Regions from separate parts of the Homo sapiens genome. Here regions 1, 2, 4 and 5 are each linked to region 3. Evidence: promoter capture Hi-C in 16 types of primary human blood cells and fetal thymus (Javierre and others, 2016). All regions are on one chromosome and are shown on one strand. Each heading gives the region's core, a stretch centred on a gene start or on the middle of the fragment in contact. The rest is flanking DNA. Distances are from core to core; before and after follow the strand shown.

The links. The method cuts DNA at HindIII sites, captures the fragments that hold promoters and counts their contacts. A CHiCAGO score of 5 or more calls a contact.
Region 1: a contact is called between the fragment with the promoter of NPM1 here and the fragment with the promoter of LCP2 in region 3, in 2 of 17 cell types (activated CD4 T cells and naive CD4 T cells). The highest score is 8.2, in activated CD4 T cells.
Region 2: a fragment that was not itself captured here is called in contact with the fragment with the promoter of LCP2 in region 3 in 2 of 17 cell types (non-activated CD4 T cells and total CD8 T cells); the score reaches 8.5 in non-activated CD4 T cells.
Region 4: a contact is called between the fragment with the promoter of STK10 here and the fragment with the promoter of LCP2 in region 3, in 1 of 17 cell types (non-activated CD4 T cells). The highest score is 6.2, in non-activated CD4 T cells.
Region 5: a fragment that was not itself captured here is called in contact with the fragment with the promoter of LCP2 in region 3 in 1 of 17 cell types (non-activated CD4 T cells); the score reaches 6.3 in non-activated CD4 T cells.

What each region holds. Positions count from the first base shown.
Region 1 is chr5:171,386,304-171,389,131 of GRCh38, forward strand. NPM1 (nucleophosmin 1) reads left to right here and starts at 1,546. Exons shown (of 11, transcript NM_002520.7): 1 at 1,546-1,703. The coding sequence starts at 1,646. It overlaps MIR3912 (microRNA 3912), which reads right to left and starts at 457; the gene lies at 353-457. RefSeq lists silencers at 1,827-1,886, 2,207-2,266. The HindIII fragment of the contact is 7,200 bases long and covers 328-2,828 here.
Region 2 is chr5:172,112,832-172,115,859 of GRCh38, forward strand. All of the region lies in intron 4 of STK10 (serine/threonine kinase 10), which reads right to left. Among named protein-coding and RNA genes, the nearest start is that of STK10, 74 kb to the right of the region's middle. RefSeq lists enhancers at 2,028-2,337, 2,266-2,766. The HindIII fragment of the contact is 897 bases long and covers 1,250-2,146 here.
Region 3 is chr5:170,296,282-170,299,463 of GRCh38, forward strand. LCP2 (lymphocyte cytosolic protein 2) reads right to left here and starts at 1,496. Exons shown (of 21, transcript NM_005565.5): 1 at 1,253-1,496. The coding sequence starts at 1,330. RefSeq lists an enhancer at 599-678. The HindIII fragment of the contact is 7,744 bases long and covers 325-3,182 here.
Region 4 is chr5:172,186,583-172,189,752 of GRCh38, forward strand. STK10 (serine/threonine kinase 10) reads right to left here and starts at 1,642. Exons shown (of 19, transcript NM_005990.4): 1 at 1,305-1,642. The coding sequence starts at 1,460. RefSeq lists enhancers at 495-574, 1,627-2,402 and silencers at 1,035-1,114, 1,245-1,294, 1,595-1,954. The HindIII fragment of the contact is 8,713 bases long and covers 1-1,954 here.
Region 5 is chr5:172,165,148-172,168,213 of GRCh38, forward strand. All of the region lies in intron 1 of STK10 (serine/threonine kinase 10), which reads right to left. Among named protein-coding and RNA genes, the nearest start is that of STK10, 22 kb to the right of the region's middle. RefSeq lists an enhancer at 1-329. The HindIII fragment of the contact is 8,822 bases long and covers 1-3,066 here.

The sequences.
Region 1 (2,828 bases), core at 296-2,795, 1.1 Mb after region 3:
ACCCCGTTTAAAAAAAAAAAAAATGCTGGCTGGGTGCGGTGGCTCACGCCTGAAATCCCAGCACTTTGGAAGGCAGAGACAGGCGGATCACCCGAGGTCAGGAGTTTGAGCCCAGCCTGGAGAACACAGCGAAACCCCATCCCTCCTAAAATACAAAAATTAGTCGGGCGTGGTGGCATGCACCTGTAGTCCTCGCTACTCGGGAGCCCGGGAGGCGGAGGTTGCATCCAGCGGAGATCACGCCACTGCACTCCAGCCTGGACAACACAGCGAGACTCTGTCTCCACACACACACAAAAAAAGGCATAACAAATTTAAGTGACTCAAAGCTTTATGTGACACAGGAGCTCTCAGAAAGGAACAGTTAAATTATAACATGTCCATATTATGCGTTAGTATGTGTCCACAACTAACCCATAATATGGACATGTTATAATTTAACTGTTCATTCCTCTCTTGATAGACACTGAAATCGTCTCTATAATTTTCCTGTAAGAAATAATGCCTTGGGGTGGGGGTGTCTTCCTTTCTGAGGCTATCATTTGTATTCCTCACTTCTTAAATTTGTTTGATATGTTGAGGCTTAAAAAAAAAAGATTACGGGTCTTCAGAACGCCCCAATGCCCGCGGGGTGCTGGGGTGCCTCGGAGTTTGTCAAGGTGTAGCTTAAAACGTTAATTCCCATGCTCGCTCCCAAATATTCGAATTAAGGCTTCTGTAGTTCTTACAAGTCACCCGCTTTCTTTCAGGAGGAATGTTAAAGATTAAGAGCGGCAAGAAGTCAGAGTCGGCCCACCCTCCGAGCTCTCTTAGGGCGATGTCCTTGCTAATTTGGAGACTGATTCAGTCCCCTTTTGGCCCCCAAGTTACGTAAAGATAAGGACTTTGGAGATGTTTTCTCAGGAAGGACAGAGCTGAAAAACAAAGTTCCGTAAGTCTGGCCGGTAACTACATCTTTCCTTCCTAACAAAGAATAAGCCGCAATTCACTCTCTCTGGCACCTGAACTTTGGGGTAACGATTAACTGCGATCCGAAGCCTTCAGGCAAGTAAAAAATTCCTGAAGTGATTACGCCTGTTTGGAGGCTTGCAGGGCACTAGGGGATGGGGAAAGGTGAATCGAGGTGCTCTCTGGCTCATTCGCAGCCGGCTAACCCGCCATATCTTACACAGCTAAGGGCTGCCGACGCCATTTTGCAGGGTGGGCTGCGCAGACTCTTGGCGGGAGGCCGGCGCGCTTGAGCGGGAGAGGACGTGGAAGGGTTGGAGGTGGGGAGTGCGCGTTACGACTGGAAAGCACGCGTGCGCACAGGCGACAGCAGCGGAGGGGTGGGGCCAGTGTACGAGTGCGCGTGCTCGGTGGGAGCCCGCGGAGTACCTGGAAGGAGGTGGGGGCGAGGTAGAAAGGAGTGGGGTTGAAAAGCGCTTGCGCAGGACGGCTACGGTACGGGGGTGGGAGGGCTTCGGAGCACGCGCGCGGAGGCGGGACTTGGGAAGCGCTCGCGAGATCTTCAGGGTCTATATATAAGCGCGGGGAGCCTGCGTCCTTTCCCTGGTGTGATTCCGTCCTGCGCGGTTGTTCTCTGGAGCAGCGTTCTTTTATCTCCGTCCGCCTTCTCTCCTACCTAAGTGCGTGCCGCCACCCGATGGAAGATTCGATGGACATGGACATGAGCCCCCTGAGGCCCCAGAACTATCTTTTCGGTAACTGCTGGGGGGAGCTGGAGCGAGGCCGAGCGGGGCCTGGTGGCGGTGAGGGTGGGGGTGAGGGGCGGGAATCCGGCTGCAACCGGGTCTGGTGGAGACCGCCAGACCGACGGGAGGCCTGAGCGGGTGGGAAGAGCTGCCTGAGCCCTGGACCTGGAGGGATTGGAGCCGCGGGGGGAGCCGGTGGCGTGAAGGGGGAGGAGACGAGCGGCCTGAAGCGTCTGGGGCGTGAGCGGTCCGAGGCCCGGGGCCTGAGGTAAAGTGGAACCGGCCGCCTGGAAGTTCGGCCTTTGCCGGGGATACGTGGCGGAGCTCCAGGCGTGGTTTATTTTCTAACGGCGGTGGTTCATAGGCTTCTGATGCCAGGCCCCGGGTTGGTGGTCCTGGAGGCTGGGTTCACCGGGAAGCATGGGCCTGCTTGTTGGAGCGGGTAGATGCACAGCCTGGCGTTATTCTGGCCTCAGAGCCTGGAGCTGCCGGACGTAGACTTACCTCGCGTGCTTCGGCCAGTTACTGGGGGTGGGGAGGCGCGGCGCGGCGTGAGGAGGCCGCAACCGCTGGGAGCACGTGGTTGCCACGTGGTTGGGGGAGGGAGGGGGGTGTGGGCGCTACATCCGGGACTCACCGGCGTGTTGCCACTCGTGAGCCAGGGATGCTGTGGCTCTGTTGAAGTGGGAAATGTTAAGAGGCTGGTAGCACTAGGGTTCTGGAGGTCTTTGTTCAGTGCTTACAGCATGTACTGTGATGGCAGCTCTCATTTTTTTGAGCCCCTTTTCTGTCTCACTGCGGTAGGTGGAGCTAGCCCCACTTTGCAGATGAGGATACTGGTGCCCAGAGATAAACTCACTTAACGAAGGTTGTACTTAGTAAAGGCAATAAGAGACTAAATCTAAACCAAGACGCTTGACTCCGTAGCTGCTGCTTCGTGAATATTAATGAGGCTTCGTTTTAGGGGGACGTCCTCGCATGCCGCCATTTGTGCGGCATTGACCAAACTGCTTTTCTAAATACAAGAAACACGTAGAGTGTTCGGTTTGAGTCAGATCAAGACCTAAGACTATTCGCAGAATTTTGGGAGCACCACCCCCCTCGACTTGCGGTAGTCCTGCCCCAAAAAGGAGA
Region 2 (3,028 bases), core at 448-2,947, 1.8 Mb after region 3:
CACCTTCCGGGTTCAAGCAATTCTCCTGCCTCAGCCTCCCAAGCAGCTGGGATTACAGGCATGCGCCACCACGCCCGGCTAATTTTGTATTTTTAGTAGAGACGGGGGGTTTCATCATGTTGGTCAGGCTGGTCTCAAAATCCCGACCTCAGGTGATCCACCTGCCTCGGCCTCCCAAAGTGCTAGGATTACAGGCATGAGCCAACGCGCCCGACCCACTTTTGTTCTTTAAAATGTTTTTGATAGAGTGTATTGTTTCTATGGTTTAAAAAACTGAAATGCATATGTAGCAAAGTTTTTTGGTTTTGTGGGTTTTTTTGTTTTTTCTCTATTAAGTAAAACCCAGTAGGGGCCAGGATGTGGTGAAAAGAGAATTGCACACTGCACTGGGGGGGGTGTCAACTGGTATGACCAGCACGGAGGGCATGCCGGCTGCAGGATGAACAAAACCCCAACTCACTGCACACACCCAGCACTCTGCTTCTGAGAATTCCTCTTCAAGGTATGTTACAGAAAGAGACGCAAAGATCCATGAACAAGCACACTCATCACTGCATGATTTCGTAAAGATGATAAACCTCATGAGAAACCCAAGTATCCAATTCAGGGCTTTCCTCAGGGCTCTGATAGGTAAATTACATTTTGTGCCTGTGATGGGTACAAGAAAAACACGAAAATAATCATGTTTCTGAGGAATCTTTAAGGATATGGAGGAATACGCTGATATTCAATGTTAAAAACCAGACTAGGAAACTGTATATATATATAATAATCCTAGTTTATCTTATAAAAACTAATATTGTCACCGGACACGGTGGCTCATGCCTGTAATCCCAGCACTTTGGGAGGCTGAGGCAGGCAGATCACCTGAGGTCAGGAGTTCGAGACAAAAACCAACATGGAAAAATCCCCTCTCTACTAAAAATACGAAATTAGCCAGGCGTGGTGGCACATGCCTGTAATCCCAGCTGCTCAGGAGGCTGATGCAAGAGAATCGCTTGAACCCAGGAGGCAGCGGTTGTGGAGAGCTAAGATCGTGCCATTGCACTCCAGCCTGGGCAACAAAAGCAAAACTCCATCTCAAAAAAAAAAAAAAGAAAAACTAATATTTACTGAGAACTTACCATATGCATAGCACTGTGCAAAGAAACTTATGCATATCATCTGCATATCTATTCCTACACACATCGTTTATATCTATGACCCTTTAAGGCAGGGAAAATTATGACTCCCATTTTACAGATAAGGAAGCTTAACTTAAGAAAGACTAAGTAATGCACAGAAGGTCACCCAGCTGTGCTCTTTCCCACTATCTGATCCGACTTTTCTGCAGACAAAAAAAGACTTGGAGGGAAGCCCACGGAGAGTGGTGGTTTATTCTGGCAGGATTAGGAAGGACCTTAATTCTCCTTTTTGTGGGTCTTATTCCAAATTGTGTACAGGACTCTAGCTACTCTCGTGTGTGTGTGTGTGTGTGTGTGTGTATGTGTGTTTTCTGATTACCAAAGTCATGTTGCTTATTAAAAACTCATTATTTTTCAGATTAAAAACTATAATACTGACAACTAAACATTTACGGGTTTGCTGTGTATAGCTCCAAATTTATGTATATTAAAATTATATATATATATATATATATATATTTTTTTTTTTTTTTTTTTTTTTTTTTGAGACGGAGTCTCACTCTGTCGCCCAGGCTGGAGTGCAGTGGCGCAATCTCGGCTCACTGCAAGCTCCGCCTCCCGGGTTCACGCCATTCTCCTACCTCAGCCTCCCGAGTAGCTGGGACTACAGGCGCCCGCCACCATGCCTGGCTAATTTTTTTGTATTTTTAGTAGAGATGGGATTTCACCGTGTTAGCCAGGATGGTCTTGATCTCCTGACCTCGTGATCCGCCCGCCTCGGCCTCCCAAAGTGCTGGGATTACAGGCGTGAGCCACCGCACCCGGCCGGTTATTTTTATTTTCTTCCGTTTTTTAGGAACCTAGAGACGCGTGCCCATTTGATAAGGGCTTCGTCTTCCGGTTTGACCCCCCACCTTCGGCCTTCACTGACTCTCCTCCTCGCAACACACTGCACTGTCTTCCTGACACCCTCCACGCACTCACCGCCAACCCAGCCCTTTCTTGTTGCTTCCCATCCCTCAAGCTTCTGCCTCACTTACTTCCCCTCTGCTGGGCCTGTGCGATTCTCACAGGCTGGGCAGGGTAGGTAGACCGCAATTTTTTTTTCTGGCCAGTCCGAATCCTCCCTTCCTCTGAAAAACCATCTCCCCACCCACCACACTGCCTCATTGCGGGGGCGAGGGCTACTTCCGTGTTGTCACGTGACCCCACCCTCCGTGCCAGAGACTGAAGACAAGCCGGGCCTGTGGGAGACCCCCTCCTGCCTGGGCCTCACTGATTGGTCCAAGGATTACTATCTGGGCCAAACGGGGCCAGTCAGAGCCCTCCCCTGGGATTATTGATGCCAAAGCCTCCAATGGTGAGTTCGGGTTCAGGCAGCAGCAGATGATGCCGGGAAATGTGAAACTAGATGGTATCCTGAGCTTGGTGGAGAGGGTTGGTCTGGGAGCCGAACCTACATGCACAGAAAGCCAAGGGCCAGGGATACGGTCCTGGCAGCGTTAAGGGCCAGGGATACGGTCCTGGCAGCGTTTATGTTCCAGGTTTCAACTAACTTTAAGGCCCACCCAGCTGTATTTCTTCTCCAATTTGGCTCCATGATGTACACATTTTCCTGTCTGCCTTAACTCTTAGGAAGTGGGTTTTTATCATTTGCCACTAAGAGAGGCGACAAGAGGGTAGTGGTTAAGCACGTAGGCTCTGGACCCAGCTGCCTTGGTTTGAACCCCAGTTGTTCCTCTTATCGGCAATGTGACCTTGGATAAGTCAGTCTTGCTAGGTCCCAAATCCATCCTGCAAGATGATATCAGTGGCTTTTGAGAATGGAATGAGTTAACACATATCAGATGCTGGCTCAGTGCATGGTAGCTCTAGTGAAAGAACCAGGCCCCCAGCCTGCTGGT
Region 3 (3,182 bases), core at 246-2,745:
GAAATGAAAGCACAAAATATGGCAAAAAACAGGATCTGTGAACTGTACCCCTACCATACCACACCTAGTTCAACATGTTCTCATTTTCTTCTTCAGGTTGGGGGAGAACAGCTGTGACTATAAATGCCTCGGAAATGCATAGACCCCAGGTTTGGCTATACGTCCTAGGGAACCTCGTCTACCCTCTTGAATCTCAATTTCCCCAGGAAAAACACGAAGCTGAATTAGATGACTTCTACCATCTTAGCTTTACAATCTCATCTTTATGACAGTCTGGAATATCAACAGAATCCGATGCCAGCCTGCAGGGATGAGGGTGTTAGAAGCTTAACCGTCTCGCACAAGTCATCTTACCACATGGTCAGGGTAGAGGGACTATAACTAAGTCATGTGGCTTGAGATCTGCCCAAGCAGATGCGTTGTCCCCTTCTGCCAATGACCAAGCACAGGGATCCTTCAACCTTTCCTCTAAGTCCAGAAGATAAGACAGCAACGCTCTGGTCCCAGCACCGCCACAAGCCTCTTTTCCTCTAGGGGCCTCAGTTTTCATAGCTATAAATTGGGGCTCACATCAGTTTTCTGTCCTGCTTCACAAGACTCTCATAAGGCTCCAAGGAGACTGCCCCAGGCGGGAGCTTGAGGACCCCCCTTAGGGTCGTGAGCAGTGAAAGCCCAAATGCTGTGTCTGGCACTGCTCATCATAGTCCTCTATCCAGCCCTCCCACCCTGCCTATTCTTTCTCCTGCCTCCAGGACACCACGTCTCCCCTTTCTAGTAAGTAGCGTTGATCTCATTAGCAGTTACAACAGTTCTCTGCATCTCAGAGCATGGACTTTAAAACCAGATAGGTGTGGCTTGAGTCTTGCCTCTATCACATGTAGTCCCTAGGGCTTCGGACCATTTCACTTCCCTGAGCTGATTTTGCAGCTGAGTCAAGGGGATAACAATGCTGACCTCACAACATAGTAGGGAGCGCTAAATGGGACAGTGCCTGTGAGACACCGAATTCAAACCCTAGCACATAATAGGCACATACTCATTTGAGGGCTTCTGCTCCCATCCTTCTCTCCGGAACTCATGGTCAGGAAAACTCAGCGGTCTATATGGCGCTCACTCAACCAGTAAAGTTGCCATAGGGTTCCATTGCTATCTTATACACCTCCCACATTCTGCCCCAATTCCATCGTCAAGCCTCAGCTCAGCCCACCAAGGGCACTAGCATCATGACCATTCACACAAGAGCAAGGCTTACCTTCTTGAAATAGTCAGCAAGGCTGTCGGGGTCCCAGCCCAGGACCTCTGAGCGAAAGGGCACATTCCTCAGTGCCATGGCTGCTCTCCCGGGAAGAAGCTCACAAGCTGAGCATGGGCGCTTCACCCATGGGCAGAGAAGCTCAAATCCAGAGCTCGGAGGCGTTCTTGGCTCTTCCAACTCCCAGCTACCCTGTGGAACACCCCTGTTGGAGCCGATGTCTTTTCTGGCGTAGCCAGATCCCAGAAAGCAACGGCTTCCTCTGCGAACAAATATGGTCTCTTCTCAGAAAACGACTCAGCTAGTTTCCTTTACCACTTCCTCTGCTGGGCTCTAAATAAGTAAACAAGGAAGCCCAGCTCTGGAGGCTTGAGATGCAGAGAGAGCCACAGGGTTGGTAATTCCCCACTGGCTCCAGTCACCCCAACCCAGTAGGAGAGGCAATGAAGGGGTCTTAAACTCCAATGTGAGTCTGAGTAATTTTCCTTTAAACTCTGGGCACCCATATGTCTACACTGCATTCTTGCTCAGCTGGGGCTTTGCAGACCAAAATCTATCCTGACGGTTGACCTGAAATACAGACAATTTCCCACATCAGTGAACTGCTGGAGCATGTTTTTTTAATGCTTTCCAACCACTTTCCCCTCCCACCATCAAAGACTGGGATTCTTTCAGCTGCCTCTTTACAGTTGTCATGAGAGGGTCCTCAAGGAGTGAGTGAGTCAGGCACCCAGGGCTGAACAAGGTGCTACACTGTGCAGACAGGGCTCAGTTTCTGATATGACTATTTCTGTGCTATGCAACCTTAGGCAAGGAGTTAAAAGCTGGGAATCTCAGTTTCCAAATCTGTATAATAGGAAAACAGTGATTCTTCATATGCACATAAAACTTAGATGCATTCAACTAGACAAACCTAAAAAGAAAAATTAAAAAGAAAAAAAACTTAACAATTGCTATTGGTAGTGTCATATATTCCATTCACTATTGTTTCCACAATATATTTTATTCACTATTGATTCTGCCATATATTCTAGCCAAAGAGCACATTCCCTGGAGATAGGAGGTGAGAATTTGCTGTTTTCTTAGTTTCAGACATTGTTCATTTCTCATAACTGAACAACTTATTGGCAGAGGGTGAGTCCAGTGTATAAAAGCAACTATATTTGTGCAATAAGGCAACCTCTAAACACAAGTTACTACTTCATCTAATGCCACACACACACACACACACACACACACACACACACGAGTCATCTGTTCCAAGGCTGTTGCCTTTACTAAGTGATGCTATGTTGGTCCTTGAGGTGGTGCCTTCCTGAGGGTTTTCAAGCATAGCTTTGGCCATGCACAGTTTTCTTCTTATACACACTCTGAGGAGCCCCGCCGTCACGGTAATGCACCTGCCTCACAAGCTGGTGGGCAGCTTAAATGAAATACACATTTTGCTCCAGGCCCAGCACTAGCTCATCAATGTGAGCTGGTGTTAGCCTCACCTTAGAAGGTGCTGAGGGCATCAGTGAAGGTAGCCCAGGCCATTTGCTCCTTGCAGGGCCTCACACCTAAGAACTCTTTTCTTTTCTCTCTTTCTTTCTTTCTTTCTTTTTTTTTTTTTTTTTTTATTGAGACGGAGTTTCGCTCTTGTTGCCCGGGCTGGAGTGCAATGGTGCCATCTCGGCTCACTGCAACCTCCGCTGCCTCCCAGGTTCAAGCGATTCTCTTTCCTCAGCCTCCCGAGTAGCTGGGATTACAGGCATGCACCACCACGCCCAGCTAATTTTGTATTTTTAGTAAAGACGGGGTTTATCCCTGTTGGCCAGGCTGGCCTGGAACTCCCAACCTCAGGTGATCTGCCCGCCTAGGCCTTCCAAAGTGTTGGGATTACAGGCGTGAGCCATTGTGCCTGGGCCGCACCTAAGAGCTCTTTGTAGCT
Region 4 (3,170 bases), core at 392-2,891, 1.9 Mb after region 3:
CTGCACTCCAGACTGAGCAACAGAGGGAAACCCTGTCTCAAAAAAAAGAAAAGAAAAAAGAAAAAACGCCACCACTCCAAGCCTCTAGGGCAGTACTTCTCAAACCTATTTGCTTAGGAATCACCTGGGATCTTATTAAAACGTAGACTCTAATTCAGCAGGTCGGGGCTGGGCATGAGATTGTTCACTTCTGACAAGCTCCCAAATGATGCTATTATAACACCGGTCATCTAGGAACTACTTCGGTAACTAGGCGATAGACCACTTCCAAGTCAGAGGAGAAGGCCTGGAGAAGCCTTCTCTGTGGTCCAGCCTCATAGAACGGCAATCCTAGGGTCAGAGTGCCCTACAAGCTACAGGAGCCCCAAGGAGGAGGATAGTGGCTTAGAAGAGAGGTGCTCTCCTGGAGGTATACACCAATTTAACAAGTGGGCGTCTCCCAGTAAAAATTTTCTTAGGGGAAAGGGGGGAGTCAAGCTGTAGGTGTTGGCTCCCTAAAACAACTCACCACCTCAGAATTAGCTCCCAGGAGCAGAAACCAACGTCCTGCTGCCACACTTCTCTAGACTCAATCAGCTCTGCCCCACCCACTCCACAAAAGCTCTCTGCCGCGTCTTCCTCTAGGGGAGAGGTGACTGCAGGCTGGGAGACTCCCCAGCTGTGACTCAGACCGACGGAATCAAATCTGTTCCCCCAGGCTCAGCATTCACCAGATCCTGACCTCCCCCTCTGACCAGCCCCAACCCACCTTTCCAAGCCCCACCTCTCAGTCCATGGGCCACCCCTCGCCCACCCCACTTCCCTGTCTCTGGCTCATCTTCAGATGTGTCCCTAGCTCCCAACCCGTCCAAGCGCAGCCGAGTTTCTCGGTCCACATCGCCTCGATATTCCCACAGCATCTGTGGTCTCTCTTAAAAAAAAAAGTGTGCCCGTATCGCCGTTTTACGGAACGTCCCTGGAAGGTCCCTCGAGTGGCCCTCTCGGATGCTGAGGTCCTGTCAACGCCCCTTTGTCTCCCCGTGCGGCGCCGAGCGCAGTGCAGGACACACAGGAAGTGCTCCGAAACAGGGCTAGGGTGGGGGCGGCAACCGTGCCCGGAGGGGGCGCCCAGAGCGCAGGGACTCGGCCGGGCCGAGTGATGTTCCCCCCAAAAAACAAGAGTCATCGGGATGAGGGCCAGGGACCCCGAATTCAGCGCCGGGCAGCCCTCGGAGCCGGAGCCAGGCTGGCCGGGTCCGGCTCAGGCATCCCTTCCTTCCGGAGCCCCTCGACGCGCGTCCGGCCACCCACCTCAGCGCCCTCACCTTGTAAACCTTGCCGAAGGCGCCGTCGCCCAGCTCGCCCACGATCTCCCACACCTCGTTGGGGTCCAGGTCGCGGCGGACGTGCTCATATTCGCGGGACTTTCTCTTCTCGAAGGTAGACAGGCGCAGGATGCGGCGGAAATTGGCAAAAGCCATGGCCGGGGGCGCGGTGGCGCCGGCTCGGGCTCGGGCTCGGGCTCGGGCTGTGGCTTCGGCGGCCGCGAGGAGAAGGAGGAGGAGTTGGAGGACGCCGCGTCTCTCGGGGTTCTCCCCAGACCCGCCTTTCCCCGCAGCCCGACCTCGGTCAAGTGTGCCCTGGGCAGCGCCGCGCCGGGAGCACCCGGAACCGCGCAGGCGGCGGCGTGCCCGCCCCCGCCCCCGCCCTGTCAGGTCCCCAGGGCCGCCTCCCTTGTGCCGGCCTCGCAGCTCCTGCCCGGCCCAGCCCTGCCTGCGAGAGCCTCGGACCCGTTCCAGGGGACCGTCCCCGCGCCCGCCCACCGGCCCGGCTCCACCCGCCGCTCCCCGGCAGAGCCCCGGGACCCCCTAATTGGCTGCGGGCGCTCCCCGGCTCCGCCCGTCGCCGCAGGGCACTCTGGAAACTGTAGTCCCCCCACACCACGCTCCGCGAGCCGCGGGCTGGGCTTTGGGGAAGCTTCGGGGACCGCTCGGTGGGACCGCTCATGGACTCAGGAGCCCGCCCGCCGCGCCGCGTGGCTCCCAAAACTTTTATGGGAGCAAGCGGGACGGCGACTTGGCATTTCGCGAGAGCCCACGGATCGTTGTCAGCGCCCAGAAGGTGAACCTGCACTCGTTCATTTAATCCTCCCGCAGCTATTCCGCTAGGCTGCCCTCGCCCCCACTTTTCCGATGGGGACGCCGGCAGGCGAGGGCACTCGCCCCAGGCACACACGCTGGCTGCCCGTCTGCTGCGGGTTCCTCGGCGCGGTGCTGCCTCCTAGTGTGCGACGGGCAACGCCGGTGCAGCCGCGGCCAGTCCCTGCAGGGCCCGGCTTCCCGGCGCGGTCCTTTCCAGGGGCTCCCCGTCCACGATCCACAAACCTGCCAGGATTAGAGGGCTGGGAGAAAGAGCTCCTTTGGCACTGATTTCTCTTATGTTTCCTGATGGGTTTGCGGATGTATTTGCATATTAAATAAAAACTTTATTCTAATTTTTAATTTCCTAGTTTCAAAAAAGATGAGCGCACTACATACAGATCAAACTAAAGTCTTCTTTGAGCACCTTCATTCTCGATCCTGGCTACTTGAGTCACTTCACTGCTACTGTTGCCTGTTTGTCCTATAGACGGTTATAACATGCTTTTACCTGAATCTAAGGAGAGTGCTGGGGGTGGGGGGGGGGGGCGGGCAGTCTGCAAGGGTTATTATTTGGACCGTGTCATAAACAAGTTGAGTCTTCGCAAATGTCACAGTTCAATAGCTCCAACCCCAGAGAACGGCTGTGTTGAGGTGTTTTCGCCCCTTCCTCGGTGCTTTGTTCGAAAACATCCTTTGAACAGTGTGCAAACACCAAGCATGGTTTTCCACTGGGAAAGCCAGCTCAAGAAGCCTGCGATGCTGGTAGTGGTCGGCGCAGAGGGTGTCCTGGTTGCTAAGCCGTTCGGAATGTTTCCACAGCTGCAGGAGTGCCTGGAATTGTAGAGGGTCTTTAAAAGAAGGAAACGCCGCTCGTCGCTGACCGTTCTCATTGAGTCAGGCGCTGTCTGAACCTCCCAAAACATGCTGAAAGGCAGGTCTTTCATTTGTTTCAGACCATTTGGCCAACTGTACGAAGCGGGTGGGGAGACCAAGAGGGTTGCTTCCATACTAGGAGATGAAGGCTCTGACTCCACGAAAGCTGTAGGCCTG
Region 5 (3,066 bases), core at 386-2,885, 1.9 Mb after region 3:
CCCACCCCCAGGCCCTCCCCTTCCCTCCCGGCTGCCCACTGATCAGTGTGTTGCTCCCACCGCTTCCCGGGAAATAGCTGATATCACAGACCTCAGGACAGTGAGAAAACATTAGCCACCCCTCCTTAACTCCAGCTCCCCAACCCAACTCTGCAGATGAGGAAGCTGAGTCCACCAAGGCGAATGCAGAGACCAGGGTCCCATCTGTGACACTTGTCTCATCTGTGACACAGGTGTGCCTCAAGAAGAGTAAATGAGAACACAAGAGCAAAGAGCCTAGAGGGGCCTGTTCCTGGGGCACCCCTAACCTCAGGTCTGGGAGCCACTGGAGCTGCTGGGAAATTGACCCTGGGGCTGGGGAGCAGTGGGGGACTTGGCCAGCATCCATTCCCCCTTGTGGATTCAAAACTCTAGTTGCTTTTGGACACTGCCTCTCCCTCGCTCTGAGTCCAAGGGATTCATAGCGGGTTGACCTCACCCTGGGCCGGGGCATACCCCAGGCCCAGCTAATCAGAGGACTGAACCAAGGGCGCCTGAAAATGAAACTTGTCACAGTCATTGGTTCAGAGATGCCTGGGCATGGTCCCAAGGCAGGCCAACAGGGTCGTGCCTGGGTGGCTCTTTAAATTTGTTTTTGGTTGTTTGCTTTTTTTTTTTTTTTTGAGACGGAGTTTCCCTCTTTGTTGCCCAGGCTGGAGTGCAATGGTGCGATCTTGGCTCACTGCAACCTCCACCTCCCGGATTCAAGTGATTCTCCTGCCTCAGCCTCCCGAGTAGCTGGGATTACAGGCATGCGCCACCACGCCCGGCTGTTTTTGTATTTTTAGTGGCGACGGGGTTTCTCCATGTTGGTCAGGCTGGTCTCGAACTCCCGACCTCAAGTGATCCGCCCACCTTGGCCTCCCAAAGCGCAGGGATTACAGGCGTGAGCCACTGCGCTCGGCCAGTTGTTTGCATTTTTGCTGAAGTTATCAGGACAGCAGCTTTTTCTTTCTCTGGCGCTGCTAAATCGGTAGAATGAAAGGCTGAAGGGTCTTGTAGCCCATCTTGCCACTCCTTCAGAGTGGCTGCCGGAGGGTGAGGCCAAGATGGCAGAAGCAGGGCTCACAAATGGAGTGCTACTGGCTCTGTGGAACACCTGGAGACAGCTGTACCTGAAGGCGGACTCTACCCGTAGACTTCTCAGTTACATGAGCCGATAAATTCCCTTTTGGATTCCTGCCATTGGCCACCAAGAAGGAGATGAGTTCCCTCTCTCTGGGGCTGTTCCAGCAAGGAACAGATATCTAGAGGAGTGCCTCACCACACAACACGCGTGTATCAAGGGCCACCTTCATTCCCAAGCCCACCATAATCTATAAGGTGACATTCACTGAGACCTCACCAAAGAGCTGACTGATAATCTAGGATTTGGAGACCTACATGGAAAACACGTAGGACAGAGGCCAACAGCAACTATGGAATTCTTCTGCCAAAAGAATCTTCCTCCAAAAAAGTGGAAAGGATCATTTTACACTTAATAAATTAGCAAAAACATGCAATTGTGACAACCCAGCACTGGAGACGATGTAGTAAAATGGGTGAACGCATTACTGACAAGAATAGAAACTGATTCAATCTTTCAAAGACAACAATTGGAAATAGGTTTTAAAAGCCATGAAAATACCTTTTCAGCCTATTATCCCTCATTCCTGGGAATTTAAGGCCAGGAAATACTTTTAAAAAGACAACAGGCCAGGCACGGTGGCTCGTGCCTGTAATCCCAGCACTTTGAGGGGCTGAGGCGGGCGGATCAGAAAGTCAGAAGTTCGAGGCCAGGCTGACCAACATAGTGAAACCCCGTCTCTACTAAAAATACAAAAATTAGCCAGGCAAGATGGCGCGCACCTGTAGTCCCAGCTACTCGGGAGGCTGGGGCAGAAGAATCACTTGAACCTGGGAGGCAGAGGTTGTGGTGAGCTGAGATCGTGCCACTGCACTCCAGCCTGGGAACAGAGCAAGAATCTGTCTCAAAAAAAAAAAAAGAAAAAAAAGAAAGGCAACAAAAGAAATGTACTAGGATCATGTTCAGTTTATATTAGTCCATAATAATAGAAAAAAGGTGAAATCACTAAAGACAATGGTTAAATTAACTTAATGGGATATTAAGTAACCCTTAAATGATAAACAAGAAGATAATACAGTAATGAGAAAAAATCCTTAAGCCATAATAGTAAATAACAAAATAGGATAATGAAATTGTAACTAGGCTACAATTTTCCTTTGGGAAAACTGCATGTGCCTATGGACAGGGACGAGCTAAAACACAGCATAATGAAGTCAAGCGATTTATAAAGATGATTTTCACCCAGTGACATCTGGCAATTATCCACAGGGGTCCCAGCGAGGGCAGACTGGGACTGGTGCAAATAAGCCTCCCACATAGAGAGAGACCACTTCATCTGAGCTTGCCTTACACGTTCCAGAGACAGACACCCTCGTTCTTTCGGAACCCACATGAGCTGCACTGTCTGATACAGTAGCTACTAGCCGCACGTGGCTATTTAAATTAATAGATATGAAGCAAAAATTTAGTTCCTCAGTTGCATTAGCCACATTTCACGTGCCACCACACTGTGGCTACCGTATTGAACAGAGCAGGTACATACAGAACACTTCGATCACTGTAGAAAGTTCACCCCCAGCCCTCTCTGGCAGAAAATGCCTCTTCGGAGGTAAGGGAGCATCTAAAACTCACTCCACTGTCCCAGACCCAGATTCTGAAACATGGGTTTCTTTTTCTAGGAAGCAAAAGGGGACATGTGCAAGGAATCAGCAGAGGAACCCCACCCAATGATCATTTGCTACGGAAGTCTCCTAGCAACCTGGCTGAGTGGCAGGTGTGAGGGAAGGCTCCCAGCTGACCTGTCGGATGAAAAGCCTGGGTGTGGGTCAGAGCCAAAGGACGGAGCAGTCAGGGCTCAGGGTTCCTATTTCCCTGTCTTTATTCTGGACGGCCGTGCCAGGCATGTATCAAATATGGTTCAGGCCACTGGAACCAAAGCAGGGCTTGGTCTGGGTGTCACA